Regions from separate parts of the Homo sapiens genome. Here all the other regions are linked to region 1. Evidence: promoter capture Hi-C in 16 types of primary human blood cells and fetal thymus (Javierre and others, 2016). All regions are on one chromosome and are shown on one strand. The core of a region is centred on a gene start or on the middle of the fragment in contact, and the rest is flanking DNA. Distances in the headings are between cores, read along the strand shown.

The links. Contacts are between HindIII fragments. The CHiCAGO score rates a contact against its expected background, and 5 or more counts as called.
Region 2: a fragment that was not itself captured here is called in contact with the fragment with the promoter of PTPN4 in region 1 in 1 of 17 cell types (non-activated CD4 T cells); the score reaches 6.7 in non-activated CD4 T cells.
Region 3: a contact is called between a fragment that was not itself captured here and the fragment with the promoter of PTPN4 in region 1, in 1 of 17 cell types (activated CD4 T cells). The highest score is 6.6, in activated CD4 T cells.
Region 4: a fragment that was not itself captured here is called in contact with the fragment with the promoter of PTPN4 in region 1 in 1 of 17 cell types (total CD8 T cells); the score reaches 6.5 in total CD8 T cells.
Region 5: a contact is called between a fragment that was not itself captured here and the fragment with the promoter of PTPN4 in region 1, in 1 of 17 cell types (activated CD4 T cells). The highest score is 5.1, in activated CD4 T cells.
Region 6: the fragment with the promoter of INSIG2 here is called in contact with the fragment with the promoter of PTPN4 in region 1 in 4 of 17 cell types (activated CD4 T cells, total B cells, naive CD4 T cells and 1 more); the score reaches 7.7 in activated CD4 T cells.

Annotation. Positions count from the first base shown.
Region 1 is chr2:119,758,408-119,761,284 of GRCh38, forward strand. It overlaps PTPN4 (protein tyrosine phosphatase non-receptor type 4), which reads left to right and starts at 1,515. Exons shown (of 27, transcript NM_002830.4): 1 at 1,515-1,977. It overlaps LOC101927764 (a long non-coding RNA gene), which reads right to left and starts at 1,307. Exons shown (of 4, transcript XR_007087215.1): 1 at 1,225-1,307. RefSeq lists silencers at 1,057-1,166, 1,717-2,016 and enhancers at 1,206-1,500, 1,217-1,476, 1,747-2,371. The HindIII fragment of the contact is 4,728 bases long and covers 1-2,286 here.
Region 2 is chr2:117,822,365-117,825,241 of GRCh38, forward strand. It overlaps DDX18 (DEAD-box helicase 18), which reads left to right. Exons shown (of 14, transcript NM_006773.4): 8 at 2,205-2,344; 9 at 2,576-2,737. Among named protein-coding and RNA genes, the nearest start is that of DDX18, 9.1 kb to the left of the region's middle. The HindIII fragment of the contact is 2,356 bases long and covers 293-2,648 here.
Region 3 is chr2:121,533,542-121,536,418 of GRCh38, forward strand. All of the region lies in intron 2 of CLASP1 (cytoplasmic linker associated protein 1), which reads right to left. It overlaps CLASP1-AS1 (CLASP1 antisense RNA 1), which reads left to right. Exons shown (of 2, transcript XR_001739683.2): 2 at 1-125. Among named protein-coding and RNA genes, the nearest start is that of RNU4ATAC, 4.1 kb to the left of the region's middle. The HindIII fragment of the contact is 4,052 bases long and covers 1-2,877 here.
Region 4 is chr2:117,999,242-118,002,118 of GRCh38, forward strand. It overlaps CCDC93 (CCC complex scaffolding subunit CCDC93), which reads right to left. Exons shown (of 24, transcript NM_019044.5): 4 at 1,580-1,691. Among named protein-coding and RNA genes, the nearest start is that of CCDC93, 13 kb to the right of the region's middle. The HindIII fragment of the contact is 5,303 bases long and covers 1-2,877 here.
Region 5 is chr2:118,016,792-118,019,668 of GRCh38, forward strand. No RefSeq gene overlaps it. Among named protein-coding and RNA genes, the nearest start is that of CCDC93, 4.2 kb to the left of the region's middle. The HindIII fragment of the contact is 920 bases long and covers 974-1,893 here.
Region 6 is chr2:118,087,123-118,089,999 of GRCh38, forward strand. It overlaps INSIG2 (insulin induced gene 2), which reads left to right and starts at 1,349. Exons shown (of 6, transcript NM_016133.4): 1 at 1,349-1,419. LOC107985940 (a long non-coding RNA gene) reads right to left here and starts at 1,309. Exons shown (of 3, transcript XR_001739662.3): 1 at 1,129-1,309. RefSeq lists enhancers at 1,054-1,103, 1,114-1,303. The HindIII fragment of the contact is 7,859 bases long and covers 1-2,877 here.

The DNA.
Region 1 (2,877 bases), core at 265-2,764:
GAAGTTCCACTCAGGAACTTTTGTGTCTTGCTTAACACCAGACACAAGACTACATGTAAGCCATGTGGCTCACATGTGTAATCCCAGCTACTCCGAAGGTTAAGGTAAGATGATCTCTTGAGCCCAGGAGTTGGAGACCAGCCTGACAACATAGCGAGACCTTGCCTCTAAACAAAAATTACATATTGTATGATTCTATTTATATGAAACATTCAATTTCTGGTGGAAGTCTCATATGATCTTTGGTTGGAGGATGACTGGATGTTGACAGATGACAATGAGGTGAAGAGCATTTTAGCAGAGGGAATGGCATGATCAAAGACAAAATGGAGAGTCAGAGGCAGGAATGCATATTTAGGGAGGAATGAATGAGCACTGGCTACAACAGAGATCTGGGAAGAAAAGCAAGTGAAGGAAGTAAAGCTGGAAACATGGATTGACAAGTTGCCTTTTTCAAATGGAAAAACTAACAGGTGTGAGGGAGAAGAGAGTCAATAGAAATTTCTGTCTTTTCCAGATTTGTTCACATTCCCCTGATTTGTAGTCATTTTGTCGGCTTGGGAAAGTGGTTTTTGAAAGATCGTCTTTATAAAGGTAGGCTCTGATAGGATGCTCAAGCTAAGAGCAAGGAAGGACAAAGAAGGCGCCTGGCGACAGAAAAGGGCACTAACAAAAATTGGGCAAAAAGGAAGTGTGGCGGTCCCCAAATCCCTTCTTCCTCCATTTCAGCTGAGATCATTCGCCAGTAGGCAACTGTGGTATTACCAATAAGTTTGTATCACCAATAAAATATTATAATGCACCTGGCTAAAAACCCTGGCGTGATAACACCAAATTCATGTTATTAGAAGGAATTAAATTTTAAAAAGCACACCGTTCCAGGCACACAGAAGGAGCCCCCGAACGTTTGTTTTATAAACGCAGGTTGGTTGCTGAGGCTTTGTTTTGGAGCCTACGTTTAGGAGAGGAAATGATTCAAAACTGCCCCCCAAAACCTATATCCTCCAGGAGCACTGAGGTTGGGGCGACCTGCTGCCAACTGGTCTGGTTTTCCCTTTTAACACACGCTTCTTGCCCACTATCCGGTCCCTGCGGTCAGTGGGTGCAGCAGGGGTCGCAGTCCAAACAACCAATCGCGACGCGGCTGCGGGGCGGGGGCCACAGCGCTCCGCCTCCCCCCTCCAATCCGCCCTCCCAATCCTCCTAGGCCGCTCTCTCTCGCACCTGCGTGTCCCTCTGCGCTCCGACTGGTGCGACTTCTCCCTGCGCTAGCGAGGCAGGGTTTTGGCCTCGCCTCTCGCGAGATCGCCTCCTGTTGCTGCCGCCGCCGCTCCTGGCCACTGACTGGCGGCGCCTGCGCAGCCGCCATGTTCGGTTGCTATGCTGCGGCCTAGGAGAGGGGGTGTGCTTGAGGGAGGAGGAAGAGATAGAGGAGGAGGAGGGGGAGGAAGAGGAGGTGGAGAAGGAGGGGGGTGACTGAGCTCCTCTTGCACTCTCACACACAAACGCTGCCCAGGATTACCCGCCAGCTCACGCCGCGCAGTGCGCTTTTCCGCTCCTCGCGCCCCACCACCAACATTGTTCTCTCAGGACTCCTGGGTCCCAGGGGCCGGAATTGGGCCTGAGCGGGAGAGGAAAGAGACTTGGCTTTGGCCGCGGGGTCGGAGGATTGGGGCCAGGCCCCCTCCCCCACGCACTTTTGGGGGTGTGGATTATCTCATCCCTGCAGGGAGGTAGGAGAGGTCGCCGGCTGCCCGCCTCCCTGCCACCTCCCCAGCGGCGCCGGCCCGCGGCTGCCCAGCAGCATGAGGTGGTGCTGGCGGCTCCGGGTCGTGGCGCGACCGCTGCGGCGGCGGCTGCTCGGGGGGCGCTGAGGTAGCCCCCCGGAGCGGCACGGAGGACGCGCTTCTCCTCTGCGCGCCGGGGCCTCGAGGCTTTTTTTCTCCAGCCGAGAGGACGCGGCTGTGATATACGAAGGTAAGAGGTTCTCCGGTCCCCGCCGGCCTCTCGGCCCTGCACGTTGAACGGGAGGCTCTTACCTGCATGTGTGGCTCCTGGGAGGTGAGCCAGGTGGGGCAAGCCGGAGGTACGAGGATGATTTGAAAGGAAGGAAAAAAGGACAAAAACAAACAAACAAACAAACAAAAAAACGCTTTCTTTCCTTTCTTCCTGGGACCTCTGCTTTTGCGGGGGTTATAGTTGGAATCTCTGTTATGGGTCAGCGAAGGGCCAAGGGATGGAATAGGTGCGGAGATGGAATGTTCCCAGTACCTAAACTCTAGGTAAAGCTTTGGAATCTTGAGTTTTCCATTGCTGGTAGAATTCCTTTTTTTTTTTTTTTTTTTTTTGGCTCATATGAGCGCTTCTTGCACGCTGCATGAGCCAACTATTCCTACCATTGAAGTTTTAAGCCTGTTATGATTCTACCAGTATATACCTGTATTTGGGAATCTGTAGTTGAGCCAAAAAAAAAAAAAAAAAAAAAGTTGAGATGTGGGTAAACAGTGATGCATTTCGCAGGGTTTCCATAAAATGGAACAGCTTACAGTTGCACAGGTGATGTGTGGATGTTTCTGCAAAACTTAGGGTGGAAGATTTTATGTCTGGGCTTGCATCATGTAGTGACATCAGTATGTACAAGGACGATTTGTAGGATTTTTCAAAACGCCTGTTCTAGGATAACTTGTTATGCATCTGCAATATGCCAGCTGCTTTTCGAATAAGAGGTTTCAGTAATACTAAGTTTCTGTGTCCAGATCTTGGGCCCAGTTGAAACAGTACAGCTGATTGGTCACATTTAAAACATATTTATGGAGAAAGATAAAAGGCCAATGTGTCCGACTTGCAAAAGACAATTAGAGTAGAAAGAAGACTGGA
Region 2 (2,877 bases), core at 221-2,720, 1.9 Mb before region 1:
CAAGTGAGGTAGTTGTGCCAATTAACCCGAAAGGTAATTTGGAATACAAGCATCAAATGTATTATAACTTGATATAATAGTTTTGCTGTTTTAGAAGTTATAAGGCACGTTAAGCAGTCTTCACATAGGTCCTGTCCTCCACCTCTTGCCCATTCTTACCTCATCTAACATCCCCCAAGAAGCCGCAGATTTTTTGCCTTACTTGTACATACCTTGGTTATAGTACTTGCAACATTATGAACTGGTTATAACTAAGACCATGGTTTCCTTCATTATATAATTTATTTTTAAAAGCTTTGTCAAAGTATAATTATATCTACCCATTTATAATGTACAATTTGATGTTCTTTGATTTGTTTACCACTGTGACATCATCGCTGCAATCAAGAAAATGAACATGTCCATCACAGTCAAAGGTTTCCTCCTGCCCCTTTTCAATTTCTCCCTCCCACCCCTCCTTACACGTATACCTTGTCCCCAGGTGAGTATTGATCTGTTTTCTGCTGCTAGATTAGGTTGCATTTTCTGGAAATAAAGTTGCTGTGAACAGTCATCTACAACTCTTTGTAGAGGCATATATCTCCTTTTCTCTTAAGTAAACCTAGGAGTGTCCTAGTTGGTATATGTTTAGTGTATGTTTAACTTTTTAAAAAACTGCCAGATGTTTTCCAAAGCGGCTGTACCATTTAACATTCCTATGAGCAGTGTATGAAAGTTCCAGTTCCTCCTATTAAGTCTTGACCATCAGGTAATGTTAGCCCCAAGTTTGTTCTCTTTTAAAGTTGTGGTATTCTTGTCCTTTGCTTTTCTATATAAATTTTAGAATTGGTTTGTCAGTTTCTCCCCCTTCCCTCCAAAAAAGTCTCAGATCTTGACTGAGATTTTATTGAATAGAGATTATTGGAGGAAGACAGTATTGAGTCATGTAACCCATAATAAGGTATATCTCCATGTATTCGATATTTTCTCTATCATATTTAGGGGGGTTCGGGATACAGGTTTATTCACATCTTTTGTCAGATTTATCTCTGAGTGTTTCATTAAAATTTCAAGTTCCAATTGCTCGTTGCTTTAATATATACATATATACACACACACATATACACACATATATATGCACACACAGTTGAATTTTATATTGATCTTGTATCTAGCAAGACAGTTAATCCTGTACCGAATGATTATTCAGTATGACTTTCCAGATGACTGTAGCCTTTTGGATTTTCTATATAGGCAATCATGTGCAGATAAAGACAGTTTCACCTCTTTATTTAATTTTTTTTTCCTGCCTGATTGCCCTGGCCAGAACCTCCAGTATGGTGCTGAATAGAAGTGGTGAGAGCAGACATCCTTATCTTGGTTCTGATCTTAGGGGAAAGCATTCAGTCTTTTACCATTAACTACATATGAAGTTAGCTGCAGGTTTTATATAGATGCCTTTTATCAGATTGAGGAAGATCCCTTCTGTTCCTAGTTTGCTGAGGATTTTTAATCAGAAATAGATGGTCAAATGTTTTTTTTCTGTCTGCTGAAATAATCATGTTTTTTCTTTAGTTAACATAGTGAATTGTATTGGTTGATTTTTCAAATGTTGAACCAACCTGCATTTCTAGAATAAACCTGATCCATTTCTAGAATAAACATGAGCCATTATCCTTTTTATATATTGCTGAATTCACTTTACTAAAATTCTATTTCAAATTTTGTATATGTGCTCACGAATTGTATTGGTCCATAGTTTTCTTGTCATGTCATGTCAGGTTTTTGTATAGTGTAATGACTGACTTCGAAGAATGAGTTGACATGTAAGCCCTCTTTTTAATTTATTGGAGAGTTTGTGAATAATTGATGTTTTTTTCTTAAATGTTCAGTAGAATTCACCAATGGAATCCATTTGGGCCTGGAATTTTCTTTACATGAAGGTTATAACTAAAATTTCTTTAGTAGATATAAGGCTATTTAAAGTTTTCCTATTTTCTTCAGTTGTTTGTCTTCAAAGGAGTTTGTCCATTTCATCTAAGTCCTCAAATTTATAGACCTAGTGTTTCATGATATACCCTTTTTACCTTTTGTAATATTTGTAGATTCTGTAGAAACATCATATCTCCCATTTCTGATATCTCTACCTAGAATATTTGTAGTTGTGAGGCAATTGTAAAGATTCCCTAAAAGATTGGGGTTATTTTTATATGTATCTGTTTCAGCACGTAGACAGACTATGCTCTTTTCTGCCACCCAAACTCGAAAAGTTGAAGACCTGGCAAGGATTTCTCTGAAAAAGGAGCCATTGTATGTTGGCGTTGATGATGATAAAGCGAATGCAACAGTGGATGGTCTTGAACAGGTACTTTTTATCAATAACTGAAAACTGTAGGGATCTTACTTGGTGTTTTTATGTAATTGTTGGAAGGATCATTCAGAAAGCAAATGGGTTAATGAACTTTTAAAATGCTGTAGGTGAGGCATGACAGTTTACACACTGTGTTTATCAGTGCTCTTGATGAAATTACACAAGTTAGGAAATGGAAAATGTCCACTTGGTTCATTTGTATCTGTCTGCTTAAACGCTTTCTAGGGATATGTTGTTTGTCCTTCTGAAAAGAGATTCCTTCTGCTCTTTACATTCCTTAAGAAGAACCGAAAGAAGAAGCTTATGGTCTTCTTTTCATCTTGTATGTCTGTGAAATACCACTATGAGTTGCTGAACTACATTGATTTGCCCGTCTTGGCCATTCATGTAAGTGATGATGATGAGCTCATTGAAAACAGGGTATGCTTATTAAATCCTATAGATTGTAGGATTGGAGGTATTGCCCTCTCCTGGAAACATTGTTCTGAGTAGTTTGATCACCACTAGATGATGGATCCTGTGTGGGG
Region 3 (2,877 bases), core at 180-2,679, 1.8 Mb after region 1:
TCAGCCCTTAGGTTTATAAAACCAACTTCTTCTGCATGGCTCACTGGAATACACAATTCTGTTTTATGGAATGAGGTGTTACCTGATTCTAAAGTCACGAATAAAAGTCAATCAAAATCTTTAAATTTGTTGTAATTTTTTTCTTCCAACACCATTAACTCTGCGTGACCCTTGACTCTGACATTTTACTTAATTATCTACGTTTGTGCTTGTTTCCCCAGCTACACTCCTTGAATGTAAGGAATACTATCATCTTGCATTTCCTCAGAATTCCCATAATAAGTAGCACAATGCTGGGTACACGGTAGGTGATCAATAAACCCTACTGTATTGATGTGAATGAGACTGGAATAGATGAGTTCTCAAGGTCCAACACATCTTCTTTATCCTACAAACCTTTAAAAGACTCTTTTGTAAAAGAGAGAAGAGGGCTGACCAGGTCACTGGGACCAACACTCCTGCCGAGCACAACTAAAAAATGCTGGACATAAAAGGACACCTGCAGCATCAGAGAACTAAGAAGGCACAGAAGAACTTCCAGGTCAAGAAACAGAGACAACCAAAATTTACAGATATAAGCCTGCAACAACTGGTTCACTTTGCCCTGGGGCCATTTATACACTGGGAAAGGGCACAGAGAATCACTTTTAATAACCTCTTGGGTCATCTAGGAGGGCAAAGGTTAGATTCCAAAGCCCTCCAAAGTTGGTGACCTAGTTAACCCCCTACCACATGTGCTGGAAACCCAAATGGCTAGACTTTAGGAGGAGAGTGAGTTGGAAATAAAACAGCCTTCACAGGGACTGCAGCCCAGTTTCCAAGCATCTGGGTGGCCCAGAAAAATCCTAATCCCTGACATCAGATTAAAGTGAGGTTAGACTGTTTGTGCCCAAAAGCCCTGAGCAGATAAAAACACAAGTCATTTCTGGATAAAGAAAACATCATCCTAATAATCTAGTCCTCGGATTATTCCTGTAAAAATTTTCTTTTGTTGTTGTTGTTGTTTGTTTTTTTGAGACAGAGTCTCGCTCTGTTGCCCAGGCTGGAGTGCAATGGCACGATCTCTGCTCACTGCAACCTCCGCCTCCCGGGTTCAAGAGATTCTCGTGCTTCAGCCTCCCAAGTAGCTGGGACGTGTTATCAGCCCAGCTAATTTTTGTATTTTTAGTAGAGACGGGGTTTTATCATGTTGGACAGACTGTTCTTGAACTCCTGACCTCAAGCAATCTGCCTGCCTCAGCTCCCAAAGTGCTGGGATTACTGACGTTGAGCCATTGTGCCTGGCCTATTCCTGTAACAATTTTTCAAAGAGAACATCTGAAACACAACCAAAGATAACCAGTCACACAGGACAAAGTGAAAACTAGCAGAAACAAAGACCAACCTGGACTCTGGGTCCCTGGATAGGAGAATAATTGCAAACGGACTTTAAAATAACAAGTCAGGCCGAGTGTGGTGTCTCACGCCTGTAATCCCAGCACTTTGGGAGGCCAAGGCAGGCAGAGGCAGGCGGATTGCCTTAGCTTAGGAGTTCAAGACTAGCCTGGGCAACGTGGCGAAATGCCACCTCTACGAAAAAATACAAAACTTAGCTGGGCGTGGTGGCATGCACCTGTGGTCCCAGCTGCTCTGCTCGGGAGGCTGAGGTGGGAGGATCACTTGAGCCTGGGAGGCGGAAGTTGCAGCGAGTGGAGATCGTGCCACTGCACTCCAGCCTGGGTGACAGAGAGACACCTTGTCTCAATAAATAAATTAATTAAATTAAATAACCAGTCTTATTATGTCTAAGAAGAAAAAACACATGATTAAAGTTTTGGGTAGAGAAATGACAACTTTTAAAGTTACATAGGTTAAACAAATAATACAAGAGAAAATTAAATACTCAATGCATGGGCTCTTTTTCCTAAGTGCACTGTAAATACATGAAGAGAACTAAACAGGAAACTAAGTCTGCAGAAAAAATCCAGAATAAAGTAAAGAGAAGCAAAAAGATGGAATATTCAAAAGAATAGGCAAGAGAGAATAGAGAGAAAACATCAAGTTTAAATGGAATTTAAAAAGAAGAAATGAGAGACAATAGGTAAAAAGTAACGGCTGACATTCATTAGAATTTTTTTTTTTTTTGGAGATAGGATCATGCTCTGTCACCCAGGCTGGAGTGTAGTTGCGTGATTTCGGCTCACTGCAACCTCCATCTCCCAGCTTCAAGTGATCCTCCCGCCTCAGCAACCTGCCCCCTCCCCAGTAGCTGGGACTACAGGCGCGTGCCAACACACCACCCAGCTAATTTTTTGAGCTTTTGTAGAGGAGAGGTTTTGCCATGTTGCCCAGGCTGGTCTTGAACTTCTGGACTCAAGCGATCCGACTGTGTTGGCCTCCCAGAGTGCTGGGATTACAGGCATGAGCCACTGCACCCAGCCCTATTTTATTAAAAAATAAAAAATAAATACTGTTGGTAAAGATGTAGAGAAACTGGAACTCTTGTATACTGCTGGTGAAGTGTAAAATGGTAGAGTTGTTGTGGAAAATGGTTATAGCAGTTCCTCAAAAAAGATTAGGGCTGGGCACAGTGGCTCACGCCTGTAATCCCAGCACTTTGGGAGGCCGAGGTGGGCAGATCACGAAGTCAGGAGATCGAGACCATCCTGGCTAACACAGTGAAACCCCGTCTCTAGTAAAAATACAAAAAATTAGCCGGGCGTTGTGACGGGCACCTGTAGTCCCAGCTACTCGGGAGGCTGAGGCAGGAGAATCGCATGAACCTGGGAGGCGGAGCTTGCAGTGAGCCGAGATTGTGCCACTGCACTCCAGCCTGGGCGACAGAGCAAGACTGTCTGAAAAAAAAAAAAAAAAAAAAAAAAGATTAAAAATAATATT
Region 4 (2,877 bases), core at 143-2,642, 1.8 Mb before region 1:
AACTAGAGAACTTCTAGCTTCAAGGGCTGTGTAGCTTCCTTCTCAGCAGCTGCATGAATGGTGGAGTGGAAAAAGCACAGGCTTGGAGACAGAGTTTAGACTGGAACCTTTGTTTGTCCACTCTCCGCCCTTAAGCAAATCAATTACCTTCTCTCAGTCTCATTTTTCCCAAATGTAAGGAAATTACATTTCTCACTTTCCTCAAATGTAAGGGATTATAATAAACGCTTCAAAGAACTCTAATAGAGTCAGATGGGAAGTAGTGTTCACACAGCGGGCAACACACCTGAGTCCCTTTGCTCCTCCTCTTTCTAAGATGCCTAGAGGGGAAGAGAAGAACTGCACAGAATGCAGTTGTCCCAAGGAATCTGTGGTGGATGGGTTCCAGGACCCGCTAGATATTAATCCACAGATGCTCAAGTCCCTGATATAAAATGGCACAGTATTTGCATACAACCTAAACACATCCTCCCCTATATTTTAAATCATCTCTAAGGTTATAATACCTAATACAACGTAAATGCTATGTAAATAGTTATGTTATACTGTATTTTTAAATTTTTATTACTTTCTTTTTCCAGCTTGCTAAATTTATATTACTTTTTATTGTTGTATTGTTATTTTTTATTGTGTTTCCCCCCACCCACCCCCAAACATTTTTGATGCATTGTTTGTTGAATTTATGGATGTGGAGCTGCGAATATGGAGGGCCGGCTGTTTGGGAGCTGTACAGCACGAGCCACTTAATCATAGGGGTTTGGGAAACAGCTGGAGGCAAAGAGAAGTCTCTCCCTTAGGCATTTAGCCATACGGACTGAATATCTACAAATTGTAAGATGTTCTGGTAGGTACTGGAAACAAAGCAATAAGCAAGACAGCCATGCAGACTTGCTCTCATGCAGCTTAAGAGTCTAATGAGAGAAGCAGATAAACAATCACACACACATGGATACACATGATTATGAACTGCTGTAAGATTCTGGTGAAGGAAAGGAATGTGGCCGTAGGAGTGCATACCATAAAGGAACATGCTGTGGATTAGCGGATGAGGGAAGGCTTTCTTGAAGAGGTTTGGTGGAACTGAGATCTGAAGGGTTGAAGTAAGCCATATGAATTAAACAGGTAAGGAGAGAATGGAAGAGCATTCCAGCCCAAGGAACTAGCAACGCAAAAGCACTGTGACAGGTGGAAGAATAAACCTGGGGAAATCTGAATGAATGCCAGAGAGTGCTAGAACAAAAAGAACAAAGAAAAGCAAGGAATGAAATCAAGCTGGATAGGTCAAAAGGGAACAGAGCATACCAGGCTACAGAGTTCTGTTTTTACCAAAAAGGCAATGAAAAGTCAGATGAGAACATTCAAAGATCTTATCAGGTGACAGCATGAAACTAGAGTATATGCAGGACTGGCAATCTTCTGAAGATGACGACAACGAACACCACCATGTTCTGCTGTACCAAATCTAAGCCACACCCATTACATTCAGGATCCAGGACAGACGGACCCATTACAGGACAAGCCAGGCCCATCACAGGAATTCTGATGTTAAGAGGACAAGAAACCACACAGAGGCTCTCACCTGAACAACAGGAAATATGTGAATAAAATCCATCCCCTGGATCTGGTGGGGCTCCAGCTGGTGTGGGCATTTCATCCTTGGCAGGACCGAGACAATTTTTTCTGACAGAGCTCTGTTCAGAAAAAGTAACAAGCAAAGAGTGAGGCATACTAAGTAGCCTTTATGGCATCTCTAAAGTCTGGGCAGCATCACAGACGGATCTGGGACTTCTCCATGCCAGGCTAGTCCAGACCATGACAAGTTTCTCCTAGATGACTGCAAAATGAGAAAAATAAGCACAATTTGGTGGTGTGTAGGTGTGTGGTCACAAAACTGCCTTCATCCTTTATTCTATAATGTTTTTCTTCCTACTTTTTTGGATGTAAAATATTTTGTGAAATGATGGTAACATTAGAGGTAGTCGTTACTATTTTTTAACTTCCTTATGTAGTAAGATAAAAAGTTATTAGTGCCCCGTATTCTTTTTACATTTCGTTTTACTGATCTACTCTTTCTAACAGTTTGAAAAAAGTATTCTAAATATCAGGCAACAAATAATTACCAGACCTTACACCAGGTACCCAGAATATTAACATGAAACATGGAGCCCCATTTCCAAAAGAGATTTGGAGTTCTCTACTCTCTGGTACAAGGATATTTTTAAAATAAATAGTAGCCTTTAATTTTTTGATACTCTAAAATAAATTCTAGAGTTGAAGGAACTGTATATCCTCACTCTCATTTCCATACAGAAGAGATATTTTCTGCTTCTTATAAGGGACACCGACCTTTCTCTAACACCTCGCCTCAGTCTTCCTCCTATAGAAGACCACAAGGTGGGACTGAGAAGGGAGGAACCAGGCTTCCTGAGGCCTCAGAGTTTTCTTCTCTGTAGGTCAGGAGGAAAGCATCCTCTCCTGCTAGGGAGGTTTCTCAGCTCAGCCTGAGCTGGGGTAGGACAGTTTATGGCAGCACTGGTGGAGGGATTTGTATGCAAGTCTGTTTTATTGCAGCCTGAAACCTCCTTCTCGAATCAGTTGGCATTTCATCTCTAGCTATGTGATTCCTGTTTCTTATACTATCTTAATTGGATCAGACTCAAGGGGAGAGAAAAGATACTATTCAGTGGTGTGCCTGACCCCAAAGCCATGGTATGTAGCCTGGGAACATTGAGAAGCAGTCACCAGGCATGGCCTTGTGGACATCTGGAGAAATAGGAGCTTCTGGCTCAGCCTACATGAATAGGTTACATTGCCACACAAGACCCTTTAAAAAAAATCTTAGCCAGTCACAGCAGCTACTGTGGCCTTATAAACAAA
Region 5 (2,877 bases), core at 184-2,683, 1.7 Mb before region 1:
CCATCTCTCTCCCTTTCCCTTCACTCCAGGCACCCTCACAAATTGTGTCTCCCAAGTGTGATATCTGAGGACTAGAAATCAGTCATTCTGTCTCTCTTCTGTACACTGAGTACAGAGTTGTGTGATGTTCCTCTTTGGAGCCTCACAAATACTTTCCAGTTCGTGGGTAAAGAGGTACCATAGTGATATAGTTTGGATATTTGTCCCACCCAGATCTCATGTCAAAATGTAATAGCCAGTGTTGGAGGTGGGGCCTGGTGGGAGGTGATTGGCTCGTTGGGGTGGATTTTTTGTGAATGGTTTAGCAACATCCTCTTGGTGCTGTCTTCCTGACACTGAGTCACTCATCACGAGATCTGGCTGTTTAAAAGTGTGGCACTTATCCTCTCTAGCTCTTGCTTTCACCATGTGACATGCCTGCTCTCCTTTCACCTTCCACCATGATTGTAATCTTCCTAAAGCCTCCCCAGAAGCCAAGCAGATGCCGGCGCCATGCTTTCTGTAAAGCCTGTAGAACTGTGAGTTAATTAAACCTCTTCTTTATAAATTACCCAGTCTCAGGTATTTCTTTATAGCAATGGGAGAATGGCCTAATACACATAGTAAAGAGCTTCCTGTTAGGCTTAGCTTTGTTCTGGAGGAAGTTTTCTTTCTTTTTTTTCTTTTTTTTTTTTTTTGAGACGGAGTCTCGCTCTGTCACCCAGGCTGGAGTGCAGTGGTGCGATCTCGGCTCACTGCAAGCTCCGCCTCCCGGGTTCACGCCATTCTCCTGCCTCAGCCTCCCGAGTAGCTGGGACTACAGGCGCCCGCCACCACGCCCGGCTAATTTTTTGTATTTCTACTAGAGGCGGGGTTTCACTGTGTTAGCCAGGATGGTCTCGATCTCCTGACCTCGTGATCCGCCCACCTCGGCCTTCCAAAGTGCTAGGATTCCAGGCGTGAGCCACCGCTCCCAGCCGGAAGTTTTCTATAAAGCTTTAATTATTCTGTCTTCAGGCTTCTCTCATTCCTTCTACATGTAGTGCAACAATGGGTGTTCAGTAAAGTAGAGTGACACAGCGAGGTCACACAGCACATTAGAGGGAGTGCTAGAACCAGAGCCCCAAATTTCTCATTCCCCATGTTCTTTTGCTCACCCATCCAACCATCCATCCATCCATCCATCCATCCAACAAATATTGCTGAGTTTCTTCTATGTCAGTAGCTCTCAAACTTGGCTGCACATTGGAATCACCTGGATTCCACCCTTAGCAATCCTGATTTAATTGGGCTAGGGAGAGGCATGAATATTGAATTTTTTGCCTTGGAACATATTGTTTTATATACAACACAGTAGTGAATAGTGACTTCATTATGGATTTGTTTCTTTATAGATCACAGTGGCATATAAAATTCAAAATCCATAAACAAAGAGCTCTTAGGTTAAATGAGTTCTTCCTAAAAATTCTTAATGGCATGCTGGTCTATTCTCAAGCGGTACAATTTTATAATGCACCATCCTATATTTAGCATGTCACATTTCTACAGTAACATAATGGAGGCACAGGCAGTGCAAGCAGATTTAAACCCCTTCTACTTCTGGACTGAAGGTTAGAAAAACACAGCGTGTACACACACACACTTGGATGAGTTCTTCCAATACGTTTTCCCCCAAAAATGATAGTTTTATCAAAGAATTTCAATAACTTTCATAGTTTGTACAACCACACTCTATTAGCTACATTAAAAAGGATTCAACAAGGGGCCAACTACACAGTAGTAAATAAACATGTTTGAGAATATCTGCTACATTCTCTATCTCCTGGAGAAAATAATATTTACATTTTTTTGTAAAGTGATTTAATAACTAAACAATTCTTTCTTTTGGTCGGGGGTAGGTAATGGGATTTTCAAAGCTTCACAGGTGATTCCAATAAGCAGTCAATTTGAGAAGAGTTTCTCTGTGCCAGAAACTGTTCCTGATGCTGCAGATACTGCAGTCAACACACCAAACAAGATAATTACTGACAGAAATTAAACATGTAATTAATAAGATAATATCAGGTAGAAATAGGTGCTATTAAAGGGGGGAAAAACAGTGTAGTTTGGGTGTGGTGGCTCACACCTGTAATCCCAGCACTTTGGGAGGCTGAGGCAGGCAGATTGCTTGAGCCCAGGAGTTCAAGACCAGCCTGGGAAACATGGCAAAAACCTGTCTCTACAATTAACAACAACAACAACAAAAAAAACAAAAACCAAAAAACAAGCAATGACAACTACAACAACAACAATTAAAAAAAACCAGTGTAATGCAATAAAGAATAGCTAGAGTCAGAGTCACTTTTAGATGAAGGGGCCAGGATTAGGCTTTGCAGTGCCATTTGAGAGAGACCTAAATCCCAAAAGGACACCATAGAAGGGCCTCAGGGGAAAGCATTGCTGGCAGAAGGAGCATCTGAGGTGTTCTGGACAGTTTCCCATTACCCTTCCAGTCCTGCTCTCAGTCCTCTCCTTGTTTGTTTCAGCACAAGGCTGACCAGTAAGGACTTCAGCAGCAGGGCCTGGGGTATGAGGATCTGGGATGTGGGTCTTGGGATGAAGGGGTGTCTGGGATGTGAGTCCTGGGGTTTGGGGGAACTGAGTTATAGGGACTAGGAAGTAAGATTTCAATAGTAATTTGACAAAATATATTAAGAACTTAAAAATTTTCTTTGATATGATACTTCCACTTTCAGGGCTTATATCAGATCTTCATCACAATGTTACTGATGAGAAAAAAAACCTATAAACCATCTAAATAGCCCATAATAAGGGACTGGTTAGGTACATTATAGTCTGTCCATTTGATATAGTGAAAATGTGTGCTTCAGCAGGCCATGAACAAAAACAGTGAGAGAT
Region 6 (2,877 bases), core at 99-2,598, 1.7 Mb before region 1:
TCGTTTATCAGTTCAAAGTAAATGAAAGGAGTTTACCATCTGACAGTCCTTTGGAAAACTATTATGCAATTACTCTCGGCCCAGATTTCATCTAGAACATTCAAGTCCATTGTAATCTTACCACATCCATACACGTTTTGGGTTAAGCCACCTCCAAATGGAATAGCTCAATAACTAATACACTCAAGAGAGATTATTTTTTCTCTCTTTTTAAAAAGAGTTGCTTAAAAAAAACAAATTCAGGGGGCAGCTCACGCCTGTAATCCCAGCACTTTGGGAGGATGAGGCGGGCGAATCACGAGGTCAGGAGTTTGAGACCAGCCTGGCCAATATGATGAAACTCCATCTCTACTAAAAATACAAAAAGTAGGCAGACATGGTGGCATGTACCTGTAGTCCCAGCTACTGGGGAGGCTGAGGCAGAAGAATCACTTGAACCCGGGAGGCAGAGGTTGCAGTGAGCCGAGATCATGCCAGTGCACTCCAGCCTGGGTGACAGAGAGAGACTCCGTCTCAAATAAATAAATAAATAAAAATAAATAAAAATTCAGAATAGGGAAGCAACTCCTCCTTATGACGAGTACCTTTCGGCACTTATATGGGCTTGCTTTTGCATTGATGGCACCACTTTCATTCAAAAAAAAAAGTTCGCTTGCACAATCTGCAAAGATCTGTTTGGCTTGGTTTCATGTTCTAAAAGTATGGTTTTAGATTAAATGAAAAATAATACTTCTGAAAAATAAGCGGTTATAAGGTTTTTAAGTTTTCTTTATGTTGGTGTAAACTTATAAAGCCCTTCCTATGAAAACTGTCCCCCAAATCACATTACTTGGTCGTCCTCGAGGAACGATTTTGAATGAAAAGCACATAAAGTGCTGTAGCATGGAGACGAGAGACAAATAACTATGCCCTTCTCCCAAAATAAGTTATGACTTACTAGGGGAGGAAAAGGAGCAAAGAGTATAAAGCCCGGTCCTCTGCGGGAAGTACCCGGAGGCCTGCCCCGGAACGCGCTCCTTTCGGCTACGAGATGAGGGGCACGCAGACGGACGCGCCCCTCGGTGAGTGTGCGTGTATCAGTGCATGATTCCTTTACTCCGCCCACAGGGTCTGGGCATCCGTCATTACCTACGGCTGCCTGGTCAGCAAACAACAGCAGATCCGACAACCGCCAGTCACCTCGACGGTCCACGCCCACCGCTAGCCTCCAGTTTCCCGCAGACCGGAAGCCCTTTTGCCCCGGCTCGCAGGTCCACGTCTTATTGACAGCAGGAACCGGAAGCTCTTCTGCCCCGATCGCCTGCGCGCGGCCTCGTTGGCCGCACAGGCGCAGTGGAGCTCGGGCGGAGTTGTGGGAGTGGAGGAGGAAGAGGCGGTAGGGGGTACGGGGGCTGGTCCCAGAAGATGGCGGAGGCGGGGGTGAGTTGGGGGTCTCCCGGCGAAGCGCGGGTGACGTGGTGCTGAGGAAAGCGGCCTGAGGAGGAGGGTGGCCCTTGGGAAGAAGAACTACTTGTGTTTTTGCAGCCTGGGAACCCTGGTGGCAGGTGCGGGGAGCCAGGACCACTGATGGGCCTGCAGGGCAAGGGGCTCCGCTTACCTGAGAGGGGTCCGCAAGGTCCAGAAGGGGACTGCGGGATCGGGGAGGGGGTATAGGAGGGGTCGAGGCTCCCCGGACAGTGGATGAGTGTCTGAGCGGGAAGAAGGCTGGAGGACGGCGAGAAGGGCGACCCAATGGTCTGATGAGGTGGAGGTCAGCGAGCTGTCAAGCATAGAGCTGCCAGGACTTGGGGGCTTGTAGCCTGGGAGAGAAGACTCAGACTTGGGCGGGGATTGGATCCAAAGAAGACAGGTTGTCGTAGTAAGTTTATAATCCACTAAGGAGATAGGGCATTGGGTTGAGGAGTAATACTCTGGCATTTTTGACTGGAATTGGTTACCTATGGAATAGGTGTTTCGGTAAAGCCAAATAATTCTTGCCAGGGCCTAGAAGTGGATTTGATGATAATTACTAGATTTTAGGGTTGCTTAGTGGGGATTGGCAATATGGAGAAGGAAAGCAGTGTGGATTATGGGAGTGGGCGCGGGCAATGGCGCTAACACTTAAGTGATAATGACCCATGTCCAGTTAACGTTGGAAAAAGTTGTTAAAGTATGATATTAGCTAGATGCTCTAGGAAAATATACCATGAAGAACTTGCTGTTTTGTAGGATTGATGAAGAAATGCTTTAAAAAGGAATGGTTAGGCTTGGCAGCTGGGCCACTGAAACTGTTTGGTATCAGTATTGCGGTGGAGCTGAGGACTGCAGGGGAATGCGTGCTCCCGTCCTGGTGCAGAAAAAATAAAAGCAGCCAGACAGTAGCTAGATGGTGTTTTGTAACTTTTGGGTTTGGCCCTGATAGTGAACCACTGAATGAAGATGGATGAAGGGAATGCTACTAATGGGGGCCCCAAAGAAAACAAAAATCAGACGTGTGCTCTTCCTGTTTTCTGTCTTTCATTCTTTCCCTGTACTTTGTGCTCAGTACTGTGTTTTGTCATTGTGTTATGTCGTAGTTCTCAGTTCACATCTGCTGTACAGTGACCAAGCTGTGAATCATGTCCACTCGGGAAAGAGGTTGATTCTGTTTAACTGACAACTGTTGCTTTTGCAGATGGTCACACGGAAAAGGAAAGAATAAAATGCAGTTCAGTAGTTTAAAGAGTTTTCTTTGTTCTCAGAAACTTATCTCGAAACGATGGAGTAACTTTTTTAGGCACTGAGATGTGACATTTAAAACCTGTAAGGGGCTGTAAATGCAGCTAACTTACTGGTTTCTATGTTTGGGTTTTAATGTTGAGAGGAAAGAGTTGCAGTGTTTATAAGGCAAATATTGCT